Regions from separate parts of the Homo sapiens genome. Here regions 1, 2, 3 and 5 are each linked to region 4. Evidence: promoter capture Hi-C in 16 types of primary human blood cells and fetal thymus (Javierre and others, 2016). All regions are on one chromosome and are shown on one strand. The core of a region is centred on a gene start or on the middle of the fragment in contact, and the rest is flanking DNA. Distances in the headings are between cores, read along the strand shown.

Region 1 (2,700 bases), core at 39-2,538, 690 kb after region 4:
ACTATAATTACAAGAACCTTTTGTTTTATCTAATTATACTGGCTTACTGTTAGCACAAACTATTCATTTTTCTTAGCAGGCTGTGCCCTTTGTAGCACTGTCTATTTTTCAGTTTTACCTTCTGCTATTTTAGCTTCTCTGAAAGGCTTCTGAAGAGAAGGAACTATGATGTTCAATGGCAGAGAGTACAATATAAATGGACATACCATTTTCAAAGGGCTTACTAAAACTTTTTGCTGAATTTCAAAGTAAAGTTATTCAATGTAAACAACAGTTTTAAGACTGGGTCAACTACTTACAATTATTATGAATCACTAAAGAAAATAATCTTGAAACAAAGTGATAATGTCATCAACCTACATAGCAATCATTGTGAAGGTTTGGGTTTTTATCTTTTTTCACACCTCCAAAACACTTCTCTTTGGTTTTGGTAAACGCCTGCAATTTATTTTAAAATGGAAAAATTTGAGCTTTAAATAAGGTTAGTATGGAGGAGGTCATGCTGCATAGGGTTCTTCTTGTGACATGAAGAAAAGTAAGATTCAAAGTCAGCTAGAAAATATAAGTTTTTCATGAAACCGTCTAGTTCAGTAATAAATGTAGGGAAAATAAGTAGTTTTCCCCTAAATTAAAATACATTTTGTCTTTTCTTAAGCTATCTGAAAACAAAACAACTAGGTGGATCCTGGAGTCAAACTCTTAAAATACAAGAAGGAACAAAAGCTTTTCAACATGATAATCTGCCACTGTTCTTAGTAGAAAGTATTAGAATTAATTACCGAGGATGGCAGAGCAATGTAAAGATACTATATTCTTATCTGTCATATCCCAACTTTCAAACAGAAATAAAAATAAATATTTACATACCTAATATTATTTTTAAGAACTTTCGAGCAACTGAAGCATTTAAAGGTTGTGTAAGTCTTTGGCTCTTTCTCAGTGACTCCTTCATGCCTTCCATAATAAAACTCATTGACTAACATGATCAACTTTCCTGTCTCTGAATCAGTCTTGTCTTCATCACATGGACGTTCTGATTTAACAATTACTCCCAAAAATTTAGTTATCATGTCTGGACAACAATGCTGAAAGAGGAAAAAAATATGAGCCTTGTCTACAGCTCTTTTAAAGATTAGATACCAAAAAATGATTGTGTTTACATCTAAGGTCAGATGATATAAAACTACGCTTGGCAATGTATCTAGAAAGATACTGACCAAAATTGTGGCTTCCATTTTTACATATTCTAAAAAAATTCAAACAATAAACACCTACTATCTTAATAAAGGAATAACTTCAAAAACAATATTGAAAACCTTAAGATCAGGGGATGTTTATGTATCTAATATTTTTTCCTTGCAATTTTTCTTTTTAGATGTAAATATTTAATAATAATATTTTTCTTGGCCCAAAATCACCCATTTCATATCTGTGTCAAGATACAGCTTACATGCTTATACACCACTGGTAGGAATGTAAATTAGTTGAGCCACTGTAGAAACAGTTTGGAGATTCTCAAAGAACTAAAAATGGAACTACCATTTGACCCAGCAATCTCATCACTGGGTATATACTCACTGGAAAATTAATCGTTCTACCAAAAAGACACCTACACTTGTATGTTCATTGCAGCACTATTCACAATAGCGAAGACATGGAATCAACCTAGGTGCCCATCAACAGTGGACTGGATAAAGAAAATGTGGTACACATACACTATGGAATACTACACAGCCATAAAAAAGAATGAAATAACGTCCTTTGCAGCAACATGGATGCAGCTGGAGGCGATTATCCTAAATGAATTAACACAGAAACAAAAAACTAAATATCTTATGTTCTCACTTATAAGTGGAAGCTTGTAAGTGGAAGCTAAACATTGGGTATACACAGACATAAAGATGGAAACTACACTGAGGTCTCCAAAAGTTGGGAGGGAGGGAGGAAGGCAGGGGCTGAAAAACTTCCTATTGGGTACTATGTTCACTATTTGGGTGACAGGATCAGTAGAAGTCCAAACCTCAGCATCATGCAATATACCCTTGTTAACAAACTTGCACATGTACCCCTGAATCTACAATAATTAAAAAAAAAATAGCTTAGGCTGGGTGTGGTGGCTCATGCCTATAATCCCAGCACTTTGGGAGGCTGAGGCAGGCGGATCACGAGGTCAGGAGTTCGAGACCAGCCTGGCCAATATGGTGAAACCCCGTCTCTATTAAAAATACAAAAAAATTAGCCGGGCGTGGTGGCACGTGTCTGTAGTCCCAGCTACTCAGGAGGCTGAGGCAGAAGAATTGCTTGAACCCGTAAGGCGGAGGTTGAAGTGAGCTGAGGTCGCGCCACTGCACTCCAGCCCGGGTGACAGAGCAAGACTCCGTCTCAAAAAAAAAAAAAAGCTTAAAAGGTAGTTTTACATGCCATTATGTATAAGCTTGATTATCAAATAACACAGTAATATTTAAGTGAAGCCTGGTTGGAACTAGACTTTGAGCACAGCTAACCTGCCATTCTCCAGACTTACCATGCTAGAAAATGTGTGGGACACAAAAAAGCATCAGTTACATTTTGAATATCTCAACATATTCTATCTAGAATGCCTAAATATCTGAAGGGGAAATCTACCTCATGAATAAAATCAAGACATCATATAAACTGATCCTAATTGGAATACTTTCATATATAAGCCTTTTTTATCCA
Region 2 (2,700 bases), core at 159-2,658, 820 kb after region 4:
ATTTTCCCCCATATACTTCGATGTGCATCTCATAAAAGGAATATTTTTCTATATAACCATGGTGCTATTGTTACATTTAACAAAATTAACATTTATTCATTAGTAACATCTAATAATCTATGTTCACATTTCCAGACTGTCTTATATTTTACAGTTGATTTGTTTAACTTGGGTTCCAAAGCCTATGCATTATATTTAATAGTTATGTTTCTTAAGTCCTTTTTATTCTAGAGTACCCCACTCCTGTCCATATACCTTTTATTTATTTATTTATTTATTTGCTTTTTGCCATTAACTTGTCAAATAAATGGGATCAGCTCTCCTTTAGAATTCCCAAGTTTTGGATTTGTCTTTTTGCTTCCTTGTGATATCATTTAACTTATTTCTCTAAATCTTCTCTCTCTGTAAAAGGGAAGGTTTCTGTAAAGGTCATACCGAGTCATGTGAGGAGGCACACAGTGTTTGGTTGTCCCAATATAGGGATGTTAAGGTTGATCAGTGGGTTCAGGCGTGACAGCCCGATTTCTCCTTTGTAGTTTCCTGTCAATCCTTCATCTAATGGTTTCATCCATTGGTGGCCATTACCTGAATTGATTGTTTCATTTAAGGTCGCAAAGTGGTGATTTTCTAATTCCATCATTCCATCCATGTTTCTTAGCTAGAATTCTTCTGCAAGGGCAATCTTTTTTTTTTTTTTTTTTTTTTTTTTTGAGATGGAGTCTCGCTCTGTTGCCCAGGCTGGAGTGCAATGGCATGATCTCGGCTCACTGCAACCTCCACTTCCTGGGTTCAAGCAATTCTCCTGCCTCAGCCTCTCGAGTAGCTGGGATTACACAGGTGCACACCACCACGCCTGGCTAATTTTTGTATTTTTAGTAGAGACGGGGTTTCGCCATGTTGGCCAGGCTGGTTTCAAACTACTGACCTCAGGTGATCCGCCCACCTCGGCCTCCCAAAGTGCTGGGATTACAGGCGTGAGCCACTGCGCCTGGCCAAGGACAACTTTTTCTCATTTAGTGGGGCTGTTTGGCTGTTCTGAAATATAGGCAATTTCCTTTTAAGCAAGACACTGGGAAGTTTCAACCATTATTTCTGTTCACGTTCCATTCTGAAGGACTTGGTTCCATGGCTACATCTAGCTTCAAGAAAGGAGAGTAGATTTTGGGAGACAATAATCTACCACACTACCCAGACCTACTGGGTCATCTAAACTAGAAACCTAGATCATCTTTGATTCTTCTATATCTTTGCTTCCTTCTAGTATTGGATTAGGTATCAAGTTTCTACAGATTTTGCCTCATCTGTATTTCTCAACTTTGTCCTTTCCCCACCATTCCTTTTGTAGGACCTCATCTCAGTAGCCTCCTAACTTGTCCCTTCACTCTAGTGTGTACCCCACTCCCTCAACCCATCTCCAGATGAAGCTGGAGAGATCTATCGAAATCCATATCTGATCTACTATGTACTGCTTCTTTGCCTTTGTGCACGTAACACTTTCTTCCTGAAACGTCTTTCTCATTTTCCTGGTGAATTTGTCCTTCAAGACCAGGCTCATAAACAGGGCCAGGACTAGGGCAAAACAAGTAAGGCAGTCCCCTTTGATGCAGAATGTAAGAAGGTGCCACAAAACTCAGTAATCAATATAAACAACATTTGTATGTAGTATTTTTAAACAATCAAAATTAACGCAAAAAATTCATGATGAACCAAATACCAAAATTTCACATAACTCATCTCATTCACCTTACCCTAATCCTGGCCCTGTTGAGTCCTAGCTTTAGTTAAATTTGATATTTGATTCATTATGGCTTTTTGTGGATTAATTTTGGTTAAAAAATATCATATTGAGACATCATTTATCTTGATTACTGAGTTTTTCTTGCACTCCCTTACATTTCATGCCTAAGAAAAGTACTTCACTTGCCTCACGCTAGCCCCTCTGTTGTCAGGAATCACCTCCTTAAAGAAGTGTTCTACTTACCACAGTGTATTAGTAGTTTTCATTTGTCTTTGTGATAGGTTGTATCTTGATTTAATGGGTTTAGGTTTTTATAATTATAATATTTGAAAACTCTTAGTAGTAACAGTTAACTTTCTGCATAAAAGCATGTTGCCATTACATGACTTACTAAAGACATTTGTTGAAACCTAGAATGGTAGCATGGTGCTTCATAAAAATCAGGCCTACATTTGGGCCGCTAGTATTTAGTGACTGACTACTAGGATTGTATGTGTGCAGAGTCTGTGGGAAATTGTACCAAACCTTTTACATGGCCATTTAATGCTATCTTTCCTTCTTGCAGCTCTCAAAGGCCACTTGGCAGAATATAATATTATGCTTTTTATAAATAGAACTCAACTTAAGGTCTCATAAACATAAAATTATATTTTAAAACACATTTTTCATTTTTATAATTACGTAAGCAATGCATGTTTAATGTAGAAAAATATGGAAGGCAGAAAAAACACAAAAGAGAAAAATGCTTACTTGTAGCCTCACCACTCAGACATAAACCACTGTAAGTATTTAGTTTTATATGTTCACCTCGTCTCTTTGCTGTGCTTATGGATATTTTTAAGTTTACATGTTTTTTATAAAAATGATATAGTACTTCGCAATTTTTTTTCTGGTTAGCAATTAATTTTTGATATCTTTCAGTGTCAGCAAATACCATTGTACAACAAAATTTTATGGCTCCA
Region 3 (2,700 bases), core at 69-2,568, 780 kb after region 4:
CGTGATATATAATGGTTAGCTTCTTCTTGAACTTGAACCTACTATAGAAAAAAAAATAAATTTTAAAAAGTTAGCTTCATTTGTAATGTACTTTTGTTTTCATATATTCTAACATTTTTATTTTGAGAATAGCAAGCTTGAAATTATTTCTCTCAACATATTGAACTGATACTTAAACCCATATATATCCAGTGCTGTCTAACTGCAATAATGATTTTAAAGTGGTTAGTATGTAATAATGTGCTGATTTTTTTTGCACGAAACACAGCATATTCTTGGTGTGTAGTATAGGCAATTATTTAGTGATTATGCAATTATATACCAGTTGTCTTGAACCAAAAATCTTTCTGCACTTATGATAATGCTACATCTCATTGTGTTTACTTTCCTGTTTCCTCGTCGTGCATATATTATTTTTAATTTCTCACCAACCATGACTTCCTCCCTTAGATAATATTTCGTCTCTTCCTAACTTGGAGTCTTGTACTCTAACTTTTGGATGTCTGTACTCTTGTTCTTGGGCTGTTGTATTAGTCCTCTCTCATGCTGCTAATAATGGTCTCACGCTGCTAATAAAGACATACCTGAGACTGGGTAAATTATAAAGGAAAGAGGTTTAATTTATTCACAATTTAGCATGGCTGAGGAAGCCTCAGGAAACTTACAATCATGACAGAAGGGGAAGGAAACACGTTCTTCTTCACATGGCGGCAGCAAAGAGAAGTGCTGAGCAAAAGCTGGGAAAGCCCCTTATAAAACCGTTAGATCTTGTGAGAACTCGCTCACTATCATGAGAACAGCAGCATGGGGGTAACTGCCCCCATGATTCAATCACCTCCCACCAGGTCCCTCCCATGACACATGGGGATTATGGGAACTACAATTCAATATGAAATTTGGGTGGAGACACAGCCAAACCATATCAGCTGTTCACATGGGAATCCTCTCCACCTTTATATTTTATTCGTAAAACATTTACTGAAATTCCACTATATTCTAGTCACTGGCACTAACTGGGCAAAAGAAAAATGATCCATTATCATTCCCTGGGCAGAAGGAGTGCTCAGTCTCATGAAAAAGACAGATTATTGTACTATAGGATAATTAACACTATAATAGGGATGGCCCAAAACGTAGTAGAGGCACAGAAGTAGAAGCAACACTTGCTTATGAAACCTTCAAGGCATATTCCATGCCACTGAAAATGATAATCTATTGTGTAATACAAAAAGCAGAGGATTTATGGTTGGAGACATCTCCCATTTCTCTCAAGTGAATTACTCTCTCTAGGCATTAGATTTCTCATATTTAGAGCAAAAGTCTTGAACAAGATCGTGGTTTTGAAATTGTTTCATAGACTATTACTAATATGCAAATAAAGAGCTTCATGGACAAATATACTTGTGTATTACTGGGTTAAACAAAATTAAATTTATTTGTTGTTGGATTTCTGAGTTTTAATAGGTTATTGCAAATTATAAACATTTACAAAAGGAATATACTTCTTCATATATTTTTTACACCATGGAATTCTTCTATATCAGTTAGGAATTTAGTTTGCTACATAACAGTCTCAAGAAATAGTTTTTAAACTCTTAACCTTTAGGTCTATGCTTCATTGAGATTTTATTTTTTATATGGCATAAAATACGGGTCTAAGTTGTGTTTTTATTGCATGAGATTATTCAGAATTTTTTATATTTATTTATTTTTTTAGAGATAAGGGTCTCTCTATGTTGCCCAGGCTGGCCTCAAATTCCTGAGCAATCCTCCCACCTCAGCCTCCCAAGTAGCTGGGACTACAGGTGTATGTCAACGTGCCTGACAAGGTTATTGAATTTTGACAGCATTATTTGTTGAAAATGTTTTTTCTCTCATTGAATTGCCTTGTCATCTCAGTTGAAAATAAGTTCACCTTATTTGTGGGTCAGTTTCTGGACCCTTTATCCTACTCCATTGATCTATGTATTTCTCCTTCTGTCAATGCTACTCTGTCTTAATTACCTTTATAATAAATCTTGAATCAAGTAGTGTAATTCTTTTAACTTTGTCATTCTTTTTCAAAATTTTTTTGTGTATTTCAGATCCTTTGCATATCAGTTAAGAATTTTAGAATCCGCTTGTGAGTTTTATAGGGAAGTTTCCTGGGATTTTGGTTGGTATTGTGTTGAATCTATTGATCAGTTTGAGAAGAATTGACATTTTCATACTATTGAGTCTTCCAAACCGTGAGTATAGTATATCTTCCTATTTAAGTTTTCTTTAATTTCTCTTAGTAATCTTTTATAGTTTTCAATGTGCAGATCTTGCACATTTTGCGTCACATTTATCCCTAAATATTCTATATGTCTGATGCTGTTTTAAATATTTTTAAAATTTAAAATGTCCAGTTATTCACGGCTAATATATAAAAGTACAATTGATTCTTGTGTATTGACTTTATATTCTGTGACCTTACTAAGCCCACTTATTAGTTGTAGATTATTTATACAACATTCTAGAAGCTTTTCTGTTTGGACAACATGTTATCCATGAATAATGAGAGTTTATTGTTTTCCCTTTCCAATCTGAATGCCTTTTTTTCTTGCCTTATTTCATTGACTAGAATTTCTTCTATTCAGTATCATACTGACTAGAATTTCTTCTATTCAGTATCATACTGAATAGAAGTGGGATGAATGGATAGCCTTGCCTTATTAC
Region 4 (2,700 bases), core at 21-2,520:
GCTGGGATTACAGGCATGAGCCACTGTGCAGGCCAGTTTGTCTTTTAACTTGTTTATATTGTCTTAAAGTACATACATTTTGAAATTTCATGTAGCTAAATGTCTTATTCTCATTCCATATTCCAAGCTCATACTCAATTTTTTTTTCTGAAAGTTATAAAGTTTTGCTTTTCACATTTAGATCTTTAATCCACCTGGAACTGATTTTTCTTCCATGGTTTGAGGTAGGGGTCTAATTTTTATAATTTTCCATATGGATAAGCAGTAGTCCTAGTACCACTTAGTGGATAATCCATTCTTTCCCCACTGATTTGAAATGTCCCACACGCTGCATATCAACCTTCCGTATATGTGTGGTCTGTTTGAGGGGTTTATATTGTGTTTCATTGATTGTCTATCTCCACAGCATACTTTTAATTACTACAGATTTACAGTCACTCTTGATATCTAGTGTATTATAGATTCTGGAGCAAATGAATAACACGATCGAAAAATTACTTTGGGAAAAATATTTTTATGGCTGTCAACAGAGTAAACATGTCAAAGGAAAGAGTAAACCCAACAGGATTTATTTAAAGAAAAGTGCAATAACCCAGATAGGCTATCACAAGGGCTTACAATAAAGTTATGGCAGTGTGAATGGAGAGAAAATAAGGAATCTAAAAGTAATTCCACGTAAAATATTAACAGGGTGTGTTGACTGATTGGATATAGAGATGAGGAGGGGGAAGACGATATATGGCTTTCCAGTGAAATGATAATGAGTTAGTTTTGTGACGCAGTGATGTGTTAACAATGGACTCTATTAGGTAAGAGGTCTGGGCCAGGGATATATATTTGGACATTGTCTAGTTAGAGGTGAACTGGAGGGGACGCAGAGGAGGAGCAAAGGTCTGGGCTTTGGGGAATTCTCCGATTTAGGGCGTGGAAGAAAGAAGAGGAAAGGAAATGGTAGGATAACCAACACGGGACATTATAACCTTAAGAAATATATATATATATATATATGTATTTTTTTACTGAATGATGTGGGTCGTATTGACACAACAGGTTTGAGATCTCCCATAGGTATGACTGTGTTTTGTTTCTGTGGCCTTCAAAGTCCTCAGAACAATTTTGATGTCACAGGTGGCATTTAAAACCCATTCCTTGCTGGACCTGGTAGAGACGCCCCCAGTCCGTCAGGTCTCTCGCTGCAGTTCCGCAGTTTGACCGCAGGGGACGGAATCTGCGGCGGCCTGGAAAACTGGCGGGGGCGCGAGGCGCCGCTCTCTCTTGGGTCAGATTCTCAGCTCCCAGCTCCCCGCTCCCGGCTCCCGGCGCCCGGCGCCCGGCGCGGAGCTGTTCCTCAAACGACACGCAGCCGAGGTGGGTGGGTGTGGGGACGCGGGAGCCAGTGTCGTCGGATCGGCCCGCAGTCCGCTGTCCTGCTGAGCCCGGAGGCCGCCTGGATGGAGCCGCCGCTCCCGGTCGGAGCCCAGCCGCTTGCCGTATCCGCCGGAGAGAAGGGAGAGGGGAGGCCGCGCAGGGCCGGGGGTGGGGGTCGGGGGCCCTGCGGAACACGGTGGGGCGGGGCAACCGGGTGGCCCAGAGGCCGAGCAGAGAGGGGGAGGGGGCCGGCGCGGGAGACGAAGCAGGGCGGGGCGGGGCGGGGGAGGGCGGCGGTGGGGGGGGGGTGGAAGACCCCCTTCGCCCCGCAGTGCACCACTCCTCCCCACCGCGCTTCCGAAGGAGACCCTTGACTAGCGCCCGCATACTGTCGAGGGTATGGAGATGAAGGGTCCTCTCCGGGAGCCCTGCGCCCTGACCCTAGCCCAGAGGAACGGGCAATATGAGTAAGTAACCACCTGATTCCCACAGAGGAGGGGAGCCTGCCATTACCTCCCAACCCCAAACCGCGACGGGTCACCCACTGTCCTCCTACTGAAGCCACGCGGGCAACAGGTTCAGGTCCAGGTGTGAAGTGCCAGTGCTCTCTAACCTCGGGGCTTTGTCCCCAACTTCCAAGCCTCTGGATTGTGCTTGGCAGTGTGGCTCAGTGGAAGGACTGAATGGGCGGGGAAGCAGGAAGCCTGGGTTCTTAGTTCCTGCCCCTGCAACTGACATGTGTTGTGTAACGTTGGGCAAGTCAATAAAGCTTTCTGGGCCAAAGTTAACTCTTCAGTTTAATAAAACCATTAACTGCCTTACCTTACAGCCTTTGGAATTATAACTGGGGGAAAAATAAATGCGAGAGTGGCTTCCAAAAAGTAAAAGTGCTATGGAAATGCTTCATTGTTAACGTTACAGACTTGTCTTAACCCTATTCAGCTGGTTTCTCCAGTCTCCCCGTCCCCTTATCCCACTGGGTTGAAGGCATATTCATTAATTCAGTAATGGTTTAGTGTAGGCCAGAAACTGCCTCACTTACTGACTTTACTGTTAGAAAGAAAAGGTAATGAAATGTGTAGAGATAGAAATGACAGTATTTTATCAGTGTGTCACCTTCCTCTCTGCCATAGGAGCTCCGTAAATACTGTTGACTGATTGATCAAAAGATTATTTTGATAAGCTATCACCATAGCTGCTAACCTCACTCTATTGTCACTAATATCTTATCTCAAAAATATCCATGGTGACCATTACGTATCATAGGCCCCTATCCCTGTGTGCCCAAGACACCTCACTTGGATATTCATTGGCTTCTTGACATCATATTCC
Region 5 (2,700 bases), core at 65-2,564, 670 kb after region 4:
CTACAGAGTTTAGTCAGAGATGATAGGCTATCCCTCCAACTTTGGTCCAAGGACATAATAAACAGAACTCTATCATTTCCAAAGCAGGCACTCCAACATCAAGTTTTAAAAAGTTACTGCAATATTTCAATTGAAAGAAAAAAAAAAGATCAATGATTACCTGAGAGTTCCTGAATGCTTCTTGAAAATACAAAACCGTTTACCTGGATGGTTGCTATGAGAGCTGGAGAAACACGAGACAAACAAGATTTTATTAATTTTATTATACAACACCATATTAATTTTCTGACCACATTTCAAGCCAATGCTTAATTTCTTAGTTTTGAATAAAAGATCATGATCTAAATAATAAAATTCTGTTGGTTAAAGCTATAATCTGAATTTCTGTGTCACCCCAAAATTCATGTTAAAATCTTAACCCCCAAAGTGATGGCATTAAGAGGTGGGGCCTTTGGGAGGTGATTAGGTCATGAGGGCAGAGCCCTTATGAGATTAGTGCACTTATAAAAGAGATCCTAGAGAGCCAGTGTGCCCCTTCCACCATGTGAGGACGCAGTGAGAAGGTGCTGTCTATGAGGAATGGGCCCTCACCCAGACACCGAATCTGCCGGCACCTTGATCGTGGACTTTCCAGCCTCCAGAACTGTGAGAAATAAATTTCTGTTGTTTATAAGCTACCCAGTCTATGGTATTTTGTTATAGCAGCCTGAATGGACGAAGACAGTCATCTCTGTTTAATTCAAGAATTTTAACTTACATTCCACTTTACCTTTATATTTTCTAATGACATATTTCCCTGAGAATTTTCTTAGATGATCAGTACCTCACCATTACTAAAAACAATGCTTGAGTTAAAAATGCAGTGTCAAATTAAAGTTTTTTAACTATTAAGAGAACAATTTAAAGGATATTTGATAATGTATTTTGCTATGATAGAAATTGTTATAATAATTATTATTTTTTGTTTCAGACAGTCTTGCTCTGTCACCCAGGCTGGAAAATAATAATTACTTATTACATTTTAATCTTAATATGTTTGGGGAGGGGGATAATCTGAATGATCCTGGAAGTAAACACTACTTGAGATAAAGGCCATTGCTTAATTCAATAAACATGAAACATTTAAAGAGTCCTTTGCAATTACCAGGAGAACTTTCAAAGAGAGCAAATTAAGGAGCAGAGCTCATGAATTAAAACAATGCTTCTCCTACACACAGATCAGAAAACCACTAATCAAGCTTCACAGCCAATGGTAATAGCTTTTATGCCTCCCTTTAAAATGATAAGGAAAGCCTTCCTGTGTTAGACAACCAGGCAAGATTAGCCAGGATTAGCCTAGCACAGTATTACTCAAAGTGTGGTCCATGGACCAGCATCATCAGCATCACCTAGAAGCTTGTTAGAAACACAAAGTTTCAGGCCTTACTGCAAACATAGTGAACTAATCTCTGGCAGTGGGGCCCAGAAATCTGTTTTCCCAAGTTTTCCAGCTGATTCTTATGCAAGCTAGTTTGAGAAGCACTAGCCCTATCTTGCACTGACAGACCCAACACAGCAGGTCAACAGTTACCCTCAGACACAAGGTAACCATCACCAGCTTACTATATATGCATGGGAAAATAAAGATTCTGGCTAGCTGTAATTCCAAGAAAACATCCTCAGAATAGGCACCATGGTGAATACAACGAAAGAGCTTCTTTCTCAAAGAGGTAATAGAGACACATGTGAGGCAGAAGAGCAGAATGTTACGGAACTCAAAGAAAGGAATGATTCTTGTGACTGGCTGTGCTGATCAGATACTTCACAGAGGGTGAAACGAGAGGAAGGAGAGGGGCATTTCAGAGAATAATCAAGAATAAGAAAAACTACTTTAGATACTGAATATGAAGAGCCTATACATTGGGGAAGATAGATCAATTTTGAGGGCCTGTCTTCTCATAAGAGTTGGCATAGCCTGGGAATAAAGGTACTCAACCTCTGAGAAAATGAAGCCTCTGAACATACAGAACTCAAACCTATGACAAAAGTCCACACCGAGTAGGAGTGAGGGTGCACCATTCAGAGGAAGGTACCTGAAGCAATGAGGGAAACAGTGTACCCTTGAAGTAGGGGAAAAGCAAAGGGACCTACGAGGCCCTCAGAAGAGTAGAAGTGGAAGCTTTCAGTTCTAGATGAGGTTAATGATGAGTAAGAGCTCAATGTGTGTGATGACAGTGCAGGGGCTCACCAGAAATTAGGAAAATGTTATGAAGGTAACTTTAGGTCAATTGGGAATGTCTGGGGATAGAATGGGGCTGAAGGTTCTACAAGACAGTTGGTGAGCCTATGGAAAATGGGAGAGGGGAGGACGGAATGACACATGGGTTTAAGTAATGCCAAAAATATTTTCCAATTTAATCCTCTATAAATTAGTGGCAGAATTAAAGCCTCACTAGGGCAGCCAAGTGTTTAGCACAGAATAAGAGAACAATATTAATCACAGCAGTGTACTGGGGGAAGGGTTGGCTAGGGTCTGCTTTAGAGAAACTGGGGTATAGGTGCAGAACCACTGTAGTAGTGGAAGAGGCAGACTGGTAAACTGCAAAAGGTGGACTCTCCGGAAGCTAGGATGTATAGTGGCAGATCAAGAGAACTCCATGGGCTTCAGAAACTTGGGATAGTAAATTATTTCTAGCTGGTGCTTCATGTTTATGCAAATGA

The links. Contacts are between HindIII fragments. The CHiCAGO score rates a contact against its expected background, and 5 or more counts as called.
Region 1: a fragment that was not itself captured here is called in contact with the fragment with the promoter of OCRL in region 4 in 1 of 17 cell types (activated CD4 T cells); the score reaches 5.1 in activated CD4 T cells.
Region 2: a contact is called between a fragment that was not itself captured here and the fragment with the promoter of OCRL in region 4, in 4 of 17 cell types (neutrophils, activated CD4 T cells, monocytes and 1 more). The highest score is 7.9, in neutrophils.
Region 3: a fragment that was not itself captured here is called in contact with the fragment with the promoter of OCRL in region 4 in 3 of 17 cell types (activated CD4 T cells, M2 macrophages and M0 macrophages); the score reaches 8.3 in activated CD4 T cells.
Region 5: a fragment that was not itself captured here is called in contact with the fragment with the promoter of OCRL in region 4 in 4 of 17 cell types (activated CD4 T cells, M1 macrophages, total B cells and 1 more); the score reaches 6.8 in activated CD4 T cells.

The regions. Positions count from the first base shown.
Region 1 is chrX:130,229,643-130,232,342 of GRCh38, forward strand. It overlaps ZNF280C (zinc finger protein 280C), which reads right to left. Exons shown (of 19, transcript NM_017666.5): 9 at 868-1,085. Among named protein-coding and RNA genes, the nearest start is that of ZNF280C, 38 kb to the right of the region's middle. The HindIII fragment of the contact is 1,135 bases long and covers 722-1,856 here.
Region 2 is chrX:130,355,535-130,358,234 of GRCh38, forward strand. The region is part of intron 6 of SLC25A14 (solute carrier family 25 member 14); the gene reads left to right. Among named protein-coding and RNA genes, the nearest start is that of SLC25A14, 17 kb to the left of the region's middle. The HindIII fragment of the contact is 3,436 bases long and covers 1-2,700 here.
Region 3 is chrX:130,323,550-130,326,249 of GRCh38, forward strand. No RefSeq gene overlaps it. Among named protein-coding and RNA genes, the nearest start is that of SLC25A14, 15 kb to the right of the region's middle. The HindIII fragment of the contact is 2,368 bases long and covers 135-2,502 here.
Region 4 is chrX:129,538,989-129,541,688 of GRCh38, forward strand. It overlaps OCRL (OCRL inositol polyphosphate-5-phosphatase), which reads left to right and starts at 1,271. Exons shown (of 24, transcript NM_000276.4): 1 at 1,271-1,490; 2 at 1,756-1,835. The coding sequence starts at 1,452. RefSeq lists an enhancer at 1,104-1,398 and silencers at 1,115-1,174, 1,285-1,484. The HindIII fragment of the contact is 8,325 bases long and covers 1-2,135 here.
Region 5 is chrX:130,209,493-130,212,192 of GRCh38, forward strand. It overlaps ZNF280C (zinc finger protein 280C), which reads right to left. Exons shown (of 19, transcript NM_017666.5): 16 at 161-223. Among named protein-coding and RNA genes, the nearest start is that of RAB33A, 39 kb to the left of the region's middle. The HindIII fragment of the contact is 157 bases long and covers 1,237-1,393 here.